Regions from separate parts of the Homo sapiens genome. Here region 1 is linked to region 2. Evidence: promoter capture Hi-C in 16 types of primary human blood cells and fetal thymus (Javierre and others, 2016). All regions are on one chromosome and are shown on one strand. Each heading gives the region's core, a stretch centred on a gene start or on the middle of the fragment in contact. The rest is flanking DNA. Distances are from core to core; before and after follow the strand shown. Region 1 holds the start of ARPC5 (actin related protein 2/3 complex subunit 5). Region 2 holds the start of TPR (translocated promoter region, nuclear basket protein).

What was found. Contacts are between HindIII fragments. The CHiCAGO score rates a contact against its expected background, and 5 or more counts as called.
Region 1: a contact is called between the fragment with the promoter of ARPC5 here and the fragment with the promoter of TPR in region 2, in 1 of 17 cell types (naive CD8 T cells). The highest score is 7.8, in naive CD8 T cells.

What each region holds. Positions count from the first base shown.
Region 1 is chr1:183,632,557-183,637,568 of GRCh38, reverse strand. It overlaps ARPC5 (actin related protein 2/3 complex subunit 5), which reads left to right and starts at 1,786. Exons shown (of 4, transcript NM_005717.4): 1 at 1,786-2,052; 2 at 4,415-4,487. The coding sequence starts at 1,910. It also overlaps a transcript of RGL1 not described here. RefSeq lists silencers at 1,503-1,662, 2,143-2,192, 2,273-2,332, 2,284-2,502 and enhancers at 1,813-2,092, 2,090-2,590. The HindIII fragment of the contact is 3,712 bases long and covers 1-2,755 here.
Region 2 is chr1:186,372,447-186,377,979 of GRCh38, reverse strand. It overlaps TPR (translocated promoter region, nuclear basket protein), which reads left to right and starts at 2,727. Exons shown (of 51, transcript NM_003292.3): 1 at 2,727-3,102; 2 at 4,517-4,621. The coding sequence starts at 2,952. It overlaps ODR4 (odr-4 GPCR localization factor homolog), which reads right to left and starts at 2,142. Exons shown (of 14, transcript NM_017847.6): 1 at 2,006-2,142. RefSeq lists enhancers at 2,113-2,302, 2,473-2,522, 2,683-2,982 and a silencer at 3,543-3,592. The HindIII fragment of the contact is 6,872 bases long and covers 1-4,597 here.

The DNA.
Region 1 (5,012 bases), core at 537-3,036, 2.7 Mb after region 2:
AAATATACACACATTATATATGTATTTTTTTGAACTTAAAGAAGACTGGACATATGTATTTACATGTATATATCCAACAAATATTTAATTTTGAGATCTCTCTCCCTCTTCTGATTTATTATTCTCAGTATGATTCTCAAACTGTACGGTCTTTCACATTTCATTCATTCATCAAGCATGTATCGAGTCCCTTCTGCATGCTTAGCTTTTTGTCATATGGAAGGAAGATACAAAAGAAAAACTGTTTCTGCCCTTCAGAATCTTTCCATCTCTTCTAGGAAGGAGATAAAACACCATATATCATTAAGAAATTTATAAGACTAGTCCCAAAACCAATGGTACAAGCAACATGCATTTTACATTTATGTAGAATTTTAGAGCTTGGAAACACTTTCGTGATATATAATCCTAAGAACAATCTTGTAAAGTGCACATTATTAGCTCCATTTCAGTGATGAGGAATCTGAGACAGAATTTTAAGTGACATGTCTCGTTCAAACATTATGAGTGGAAGAGTCAACACTTAAGCCTGAGTTTTCTGATTCTAAGCCTAGTGCTCTTTTCAACACAGCACTGGAAACCAAAGATTGTGGTACACAACAGGGCAACAGCCAGTCTTCTGCTCGAGGTCCAACTAAACTGGACCCATACCGAGCAGTGTCCAGCCAAATGTCCAAATTAATTTTATCCTGCAAATATTTGTTCTTCAGTGTAATACACACAGCACAACTACCATTTCCTTCGTCTTAGTGCCTTTATCTCCTACATTCCAGAAATGGGGATGTCAAATATTTTTTTAAATCTGGCCTAGATGGAATCATATAAATCTCAAATCATAATATAAATCTTAAAGGTCTGGTTTCCACCAATCCTTCCACATTTTGTTTTCCCCCAGCACTAGAGAGCCTAACCTACCCTCACCCCTTTCGAGCATTCTTGCTCCAAACGACCACCTATTTTAAGATGTCAATGACCCTTTCCCAAATTCTACAAATTCACCCCAGTTTTGCCACCCGACCCCAGCGCCTGCCCGGACACGTTCCCCTCCCTCCCAATAGATTTGATACCGAGTTCAGGTTCTGCAGATCCCGTTGCGATGCTGTCACACAGCACTGACAGATAAGATTTGACCTTTCGACTCCGTCCTTGGGGACTTCCCGCTGGCCAAGAAGGGTAGTTCCAATCCCAGGAAACGGGCTTCCTGCTCAGGAACGCAGCCTCTAGCAGCGCACAGTCTGAGGCAATGTCTCCGGCAATTAGAACGATGCTGGGCGCCCGGGTGTGCATCACTCTGCCTCATACTCCTACCAACTGCAGGGCACTCGGTCCGGCAGCCAGTCCATCCCACCCACAGCCAAGTCCCAGCCAGCCGGACCTTACGCAGGACCCCGATGATAGGTCGTTGACGGCTGCAGCAAAAGCCAAGGCCACCTGCCGCTGCTGCCCATCCCCGCCAATCTGAGACCCCCTAGACTGGACCGCAGAAAAGCGTTTCTATGGGAACCCCCCCACCGAGAATCACGTGACGCAATCGGACGACCAATCGCTTCTTACCTCTGCCCGCGGTCCAGCTTTTGGCCCTCCCTCTCGCCCCCGCCTCCTTCGCCCAGCCCCGCCCCTTGCCTGCGGAGAGCCCGCGCCTGCGCGCTGTGTCCTGCGCGCTCCTTCCCTCGCGCGCGCTCTCCGTGGAAGAGCAGGGGCAGCGTGGGAGGCGCCAAGGGAGCGCGAACCTGAGGAGGAAGAAACGGGGCTAGCGCGCAGGCCCAGAACGGTCCGAGCCGCGGCAGTCGGCGACGCCTCAGAGCGGAAGAGGGAAGTGAATCAGGCGCCGGGTAGTGGGTTGCTGGGCTGGGCTTGCTGAGGTAGAGGCAGCGCCAAGAAGAGGCCTTTGCCGCTGGTCGGGATTGGGATGTCGAAGAACACAGTGTCGTCGGCCCGCTTCCGGAAGGTGGACGTGGATGAATATGACGAGAACAAGTTCGTGGACGAAGAAGATGGGGGCGACGGCCAGGCCGGGCCCGACGAGGGCGAGGTGGACTCCTGCCTGCGGCAATATCCTTGCATTCACCGCCCTCCCCACCCCAGCCCAGCCCAGCCCGCCCTTCTCCTGGGACCCGGGAGCCTGCAGGATCCGCGGGGCACCGGCGCGGAGCTGCCCTCTCAACCTGCGGCTTAACCTGTCTCTTTGGGATCGCCCGCTCTGAGAGGGCAAGGGGGAAGCCCCCGTTTCCTACCCAGTCGGCAGGAGACGCGAGGGTCCCACTCTTGGAAGCCTGCCCTCCCCCGCGCGCCTTCCACGCCCCCAGATTCCTCAGGTTGCACCCGAGTGCCTGCCTGCCTCGGGAACTGGTCCCGCCGGCCGCGCCCTCGCGGCGCTGGGGAAGGCGGCCCCGGCTGGTGGGGAAGGCTGGTGCCGAGCGCCTTAGTTTTTCTTCCTAGAACTCTGATTTCCTGGGGTCACATTAGCTCCAGAAATTTCTGATTGTGGGGAACCTGCATCTTTCCTTAGTGGTTTTGTTTTTTGTTGTGTTTTTGTTATTGGTAGCGTTAAGGTAGTTTATTCCTTACCGGGGGGCGGGGGGAGATGGGACTGTTCGAAAATTGAGGGTCCCTGTGCTTTCAGCCCATTGGCCTTTTTAAAAAAAAAAAAAAAAGAAGAAGAAGAAGGGGATTTGGCAAAATATACATTGTACAGAATTTGTTAACTGGGGGAGGGGAATGAATACAAAAAATACAAAACTCCTAGAAGGAAGCTTGGAGCCTTTTACCTGCTAAGAAAAGGACAATAGAAAAAACAACGGGGAATGCGTGTGGAGAATCCTTGGAAATATTTAAAATAAACCCCAATGAATAAGATAGAAGATGAGTCATTCGTATAAAGCAGAATCATTTTTGTAATCCTAAAATTGTTTCCATTTTAGTTAAAATATGGCAGTCAGTTCCCGGTTTCTGTTTTTGCATATTTGAATATTCATAACTTTGGCTTCGCATTTGCATTACATCTTTTTTAGAAAAATGTAAATGTTGCAAAAAAACCGAAGCTGTAGTTTTAGAAAATCTCAGACACTGAATTTGTATGCATTTCTAATTCTTGGGTGTATTCATAAGGAAGACTCTCAACAATGTCCTGTTATAGTGGGGAAATATGAGAGTGAAAATATTTAATGGCAACAATATCCTTTTTTAAAGGCACCTAAATAGAGCATTAGACATTTATCAATATATAGATAGTGCTTTGCCACAACTTTCACAATTAATTAGCTGTTGCTCTTTTGCATTATTTAAATACTTAAGTGCTTGGAGTTATAAAAAATGAGCTAATCTACATCAGGCATGCTTCTCTAGAAATCCCTGCAGCCTTGAAAATAACAGCTTGTCAACCAGAGATTTTGTGTAAGAACTTTTTCTTTAGAAAATAAATGGTGAACATGCTTCCTAAAAACATTATTTGTGATGGATAGATGGTGTTTTATGAAACCCCAGTGTATTTTAGGTAATTTGTGGTGACTTTTAAATGGTACTGCTGTATCCATATCAGTGGATCTGCTTTTTGATCAGTTCATCTTAAAATATAAAGATACTGTCTCTTCTTACCGTTACATACAGCCAGGAAAGACAGCCCTAGTGGTGGGGTACTAGAGTTGGAGGAACAAGTGAACTCTGTGGTTTTCCTTTTAGGGGAATGTTTGTACATTCTGACAGTCTGATTGGCCTTCTGTTTCTCATGCTTGCTAACTCACTAGTGCTTTCAAAGAGAGCCTGAATTTAATAGGTATGGTCTAACACAGTTTGAATAACCTTTGTGAAATATGAGAGAAAATATCTAAAGCAAAAAATTAAGCTGCCACCTAAGGGACATATGAATTATTACATCTTCTGTGATGCCTCTTTTCATCAATATTGAGAGATTGCTAATGTGTATCATTCAGATTGCTAATCTGCCAGCATGTTCTACCAGCATTTCAGATAATACAGAATATGGTTCTAGCAAAAGTTTGGTCTTTATTTTTTCAATTAGAATCACAGGAAAAGACATATTTTGGTTGATAATAGGTTATTTCATTTGGGGGACTAATAATTCTGATATATATTTTAGGATTTCTTTAACACCACTCTAGGTAATGTTTGCATATGTATCTCACTGGGAAATGAAAGACTATCAAGGTGTTCACTTGATAGTTAGAACCAAGGGTGAAACAGTCTTTGCTTTATTAAAAAAAAGTCTAATGTTCTATTTTGCTTTTGATATTTTGCCTTTGATTAACATCCTGGAAACCAACACATTGAATTTCCAGTATTGAACATAGTGACCAAAGTAATTTTCTTTTTATATGTAAATCAAGTCATAAGAACCAGTGGTTATAATGCTTTCCTGGGGGCCATCCTTTGCTGTTACACCCTTAACTTCCATCACAGGAAACATGACAGCTGCCCTACAGGCAGCTCTGAAGAACCCCCCTATCAACACCAAGAGTCAGGCAGTGAAGGTGAGTCGCAGACTACAACACAGTGATCTCTGCTGATATCTTATTCTTAGTAAAATCCTCTGCAGTTGCAAAAAAAAATCAATATTTTAACTGTTTGCTATCTTTGACATAGAAGAGTTTATAATGTAGTTTGATAGGTAAAAATTTCACGTGAAAAAATAGCCCTATAATGTAGTTATGATAATGCTGCATGGTAAGATACAGTAAGTTCAAACGATAGTGAAATCATTTGTGTGTGTTTTTAGAGGAGACCACTCAGGCTGAATTTGAGCAAAGGTTTGAAAAATAAGTTAAACCTTTACAAAAATAAACAGATTGTAATTGCTTTTTAAAGATTTTTTAAAACCATACAAATACTAAATACTTATTATAGAAAGCTCAGACATATGAGAAGGTTAAAAAGATAGTGGTTTGTGGTCCCAGCACCCAGAGATAACAGTTACTACTTTGGGGCCTTGCTGTATTGTTACAGAGTTCCCTTTTGTTTTTTTAAGAATGAAATTTTATAACGTGCTTTTTCAGCTA
Region 2 (5,533 bases), core at 1,478-3,977:
TCCACCTCCCAGGTTCACGCCATTCTCCTGCCTCAGCCTCCCAAGTAGCTGGGACTACAGGCACCCGCCACCACACTCGGCTAATTTTTTGTATTTTTAGTAGAGACGGGGTTTCACCGTGTTAGCCAGGATAGTCTCGATCTCCTGACCGTGTGATCTGCCTGCCTTGGCCTCCCAAAGTGCTGGGATTACAGGTGTGAGTCACCATGCCTGGCCTTCCTAGCTCTTTTTTGACAACAATAGACGTGAATCAGATTTGCATATCATTTTTTAGAGACTAAGTCTAGGAATGCTTGTCTAAATATCACTGTTGCCTCTGTGAAGTTAAGGGCTTTTACCTTTTAGTAATGCCTTAAGGTATGCAATTCTATGTATCTACTTTCCTCTATATCATATTATACTCCTTTTCCTTCTGGTCTAATAATTCTTAATTCTTGCAACAAATACAAGTAATTCTAAAGTTATATTTAACCTTTTAACCTTATTTCTTCTAGGGTGTCACCTAGTAGCCATATTAATGTGTAAGAAACTGAATGTAATAGGGAGATGAAAATCTATTCAATTATGAAATCTGATTGAATGTCAGATAAATTTTTCTTTAGTGCTCTTTCAAAATTTTTAAATGTAGTCAACCATACTTTATAAAAGGCAGTACTAAAAATGTATATAGTCAGCTTTCCACATCTGTGGTTTCCACTTCCATGTATTCAACCAACCACAGATTGAAAAATTATTTTTTTAAAGCATGATTACATCTGTATCATTAAAGATGTTTTTTCTTGTCACTATTCCCTAAACAATATAATATAACAACTATAGCATTTACATTGTATTAGGTATTATAAGTAACTTAGAGATGATTTAAGATATGCAAATGCTACACCATTTAATATAAGGAACTGGAGCATCCATGGATTTCATATCCATGGGGTGGGCAGGTGAGAGGGTCCTGGAACCAATGCCCCACGGATACCAAGGGACAACTGTATTTTGCCTTATAGGGTCATAATTTTCCAGAAATGTTGTATATCAGCCAAAGCCTTTGTGGTCCAAGCACTGTGACTGACACAACTCAACCTTTCTGGGCTCTGGTTTCCTAATCTATAAAATAAAGCATTTGAATCCTAGCAGATCTGAAAACCTATCTAATTTTAGGATTCTGTGAATCTAAGTACAGAAAAATCTACATTTCCCAAATGACAGATCAACAGTATGATAATACTGTGGGCTTAGGACATAGCATAATACTTCATATACCAGCAACTTTAATTACAATGCTTATCTAAAAAATATTTTTGGGGAAAAATCAACCTTAAGCTCCGCTGTTGATTTATTTTTCCTTAGTTATTACAAAATATCATAAAATGCTTCCATTTATATTTCTTAGACGGCTTCACAACATGATTCAAAAGTAAGAACTAGAGAAAAAGAATAAATTTCATATAAGAACTAAATCACCAATTCACAGAAGGCCCACGACTGTGGGAACTGCAGAGAGACGACACTGGGAATGCATTATTTACAATGAATAATTTAACAAATTCTTTCATAAGAGTAAACACGAAACAATCTACGGATTGAGCTTTAAAACTACAGAATTATGATCTGGAACCATACAAGTTCTGTTACTGTAGAAATTAACAATGTGTTTAAAAACTTCAGTTACAACAGTTTTCAATTTTAAAAACAATATAATGTTAGGTAACCGTTTCTGCAACGAAAAATTTAAAACATAGGCTACACTCAAAGTGCTACCGGTTTCTTTTAATTCTCCTCCTGAAGAATTAACCCGGGTCCTTAAATTCCCGGGTACTGAATCACTCAGTGCCACCTCCCCACCACCAAAAACCATTTAGGTACGCCGTTTCACACAAGGTAAGTTCGTCAGAAGTGTGTGCCGGAGTGACTGTCCATATGGTTCCAACACTGTCCCTTCCTTTTTCTCTTGAAAAGAGAGCACACACACACACACACACACACACACACTACACTTAGGCTGACTTACCTGTTTTCAGAATGTGCACTCGTGGCAGACAATTACCTCGGACGGTCTCTCCGCCGGAGATGGGGGTTTCGGGCCCAAGTACCAGCCTCTAGGGGCCAGATTCCCTCCGGTCTCAATTCACTGCCACTGAATTCATCAGAAAGCGACCTACTTCCCACACCTCACTTCCCACTCCAAAGCCAGGGACTTGGGAGTCAGGTGGCGCAGATTGATGACGTAAAAGCCCCCCCTCCCTTCCCCGCAGAGCCTCAGCCAAAGCGACTGCGGTCGCCACCCCGCCCCCTTCTGGGCGCCATAGAGAGCGTGGCGGTATCCCGGAGCCTGCCGTCCGGCCCTACCGGGACCGATGCCCTCTAGTGGCTCAGTGTCCAGAAGCCGCCAACGAGGACGATCCATGGCATCCCGGGGCTTTGACGGTAAGGTCACCAGCTCTTCAGGGAGGGCCAAGGGGTGACGAGTACGTATGTGGCGCCACCGTGCGGACAGCGGTTACGGGGCCGAGATAGGAGAGCCAGGGGAGCGGGGAGAAAAACGGAAGCTGAGAGGGCGGTGCAGCATTGGGCTCCCGGAAAAGAATGAGAAAAACACTACATTTCCCAGAGCCCTACAAGGCCTGAAGTGGGTGGAGCTGGAAGCCGGAAAATTGGGTGCGCAAGAGGATCAGGGATAGCCTCTGAGCTCGGGTTCCCAGGGTTCGTAGCTTCCAACGGCTGCGCGCGCACTTCGGTCGCGGGCGGTGAGGTGCTGTTGCTGAAACGCTGCCGCTGAGGGTGGACTCGATTTCCCAGGGTCCCGCCGCGGGAGTCTCCGGCGGGCGGGCGCGCGCGAGCCACCGAGCGAGGTGATAGAGGCGGCGGCCCAGGCGTCTGGGTCCTGCTGGTCTTCGCCTTTCTTCTCCGCTTCTACCCCGTCGGCCGCTGCCACTGGGGTCCCTGGCCCCACCGACATGGCGGCGGTGTTGCAGCAAGTCCTGGAGCGCACGGAGCTGAACAAGCTGCCCAAGTCTGTCCAGAACAAACTTGAAAAGTTCCTTGCTGATCAGCAATCCGAGATCGATGGCCTGAAGGGGCGGCATGAGAAATTTAAGGTGGAGAGCGGTAAGTGAGATGCTCTTTCCGTCCTTGGTTTTGGGCTCGACTCCCGCCCTTTGGGTCTGGTCTTCCCCCATCAAGTTGGCACTGGGTACCGCTCTGTTAACCTCACTTCCTGGGCTCTGTGGATATCCTGAGCCTTCGCTTTCCTGCTCCTTACAGTTTGATAAGAAGCCTTTGAAAAAAAAATCTGAATCTAAGTTCAGTAGCATTTTCTTTGTAGTTAGGGTAGGCTCATACAGGGACGCTTATTTTCCTTCGTCCGGCAGACGGGAAACAGACTTGATAGAGTCTGCGAACCCATCTCTCTAAGCCTAGAGTACCTTATATGTTTTGTTGCACTTCAACTGATAGTGGCTCCGCCCTATTTTCTAGGCACCTGCATTCTAGGCCTTTGCCAAATTGACCACTCTGTGCACTTGTTCTTAGTGTGTGCGTCGTCCCGTGGCTCCAGAACGAATCAGATGTTTACAAAAATGAATATTAGGTGCATAAGAGCGCTGGAAACACAGTGAATGTGCAGTACATAAATTTAATATATCTTGATTTCTCTTAAAAAGTTGGAGTTTGATAGAAAACATTAAAATTTTCTTGTAATTACCTAAAGTAGGCCTTTAAGTAAGAAAGTTACTGACAATAATGGCTTGAACATCCTTGAAAAAAATATGAAGAATATAGTCATTACCATTAGTAAAATACAAACTTCCCGTTAATGTGTTTTGGTTTACCATTTGTTTGGGGAGGTTCATACTGTTCTTGCTAAGTTGACTGGAAATTCTGAACAAGTTTTTACTTCAAAAAAAGTGTAACTGTCAAGCAGAATTGACCTTGAAAATTAGTTCTCTGATCCCAGAGCTGAGTATAGTACATTGCATTCTATTTATTAATTTGCACCATAAATATTGAATGTCTTACATGTTCCTGATACTATGCTGAACATGATATTCAATCCCTTCCCTTGGAAAGTTTACACATTTACTTTTACATATATTTAGTAGTTTTATGCTTTCAGGTAATATCTTGACTACTATAAAAGAAGTCTTTTAAAACAAAGGAGTTTTTTTTTGTCTAAACAATTTTTTCTCGTGTAATAAATACTTTATTTATTAAGCAGTTTACTGATGTCTGGAGAAAATACTAAGATAAATGAGGTTACCTGCCTTGAAGACATTGATTTGTAAAGCCCCTTTTAGGCCTTATTTTTATTTTTTATTTTTTGTCATGTAAGTCGTTTGGAAATGCTTTAAGTCCTTTTCAGTGCTCAGTCTATTTATCTTTACTCAGATTCTCTTATGTGGAGCACAATTCTAATACTGTATCTTAAGTTTTAAAATCAAGGTTATTAGAAATAAATAACAGTATTCACAATGTATGTACATGTGTTTGATTTTGTTTTTTGTTTTTTGCTTGTCTGCTGTAGAACAACAGTATTTTGAAATAGAAAAGAGGTTGTCCCACAGTCAGGAGAGACTTGTGAATGAAACCCGAGAGTGTCAAAGCTTGCGGCTTGAGCTAGAGAAACTCAGTAAGTATTTAATTCATCTTTGTAAGTATTCTCGGAGTATCGAAATCTTCAGAGACTCCTTTATATACTTTGGAAACATTTGCTTACTAAACATGAAAATATTGATTAAGCATCATTGGTTTTTATTATGGTGATATTTTGATTTTTCACTTAGTGGTAAAGATTTTGTGAGAACACAGAATTTAATGGTCAGGAGGTCTGGATTCTTATTCTGATTTTGCTATTAAAATTGCTTTTGCCACATGTAAATCTTAACAGTATCTGATTATTGTTTATAAAATGGTTAGACCCACATGTCTGTCTACCTAGACAGCTTTGTAAATCAAATGAGATAAGAGTTCTTGAAATCTTTTTAAAAAGGTGAAAGCATTATGCAACTAAAGAAGTAGAGAGTGGCTTGTTTTTATGTTGAAGAATCGAAGCCTATTGATTTCATTATATTTATGTTTTAACTCCATTTTTTAATAATTTTTATAAATATCTATGAATCTCAGGATATTTCCCCTTTAAGGCCTAATTCCTATAAAAGATTGATAGCTAATCTCTTTCTTACTTTTCTTACATCATTAAGTTTTAGAAAGTTCACAAGATGTTAAAGATCCTGACATTTCTTAGGAGGATGATATGTCTTGTGCTTTGCTTTTCCCATCCAAGTTCTGACCAGGCCCCACCCTGCTTAGCTTCCGAGATCAGACGAGATGGGGTGCCTTCAGGGTGGTCTGGCTGTAGACTGCTTCTGCTTTAAGAAAGCAAACATCAGAACATTAGGAAAGATCTCTATAAAGGTGTAATTAATTTTTTTTTTCCTTTTTTTTTGGAGACAGAGTCTCACTGTGTTGCCCAGGCTGGAATGCAGTGGTGCAATCTTGGCTCTCTGCAACCTCTGCCTCTTGGGTTCAAGCGATTCTTGCG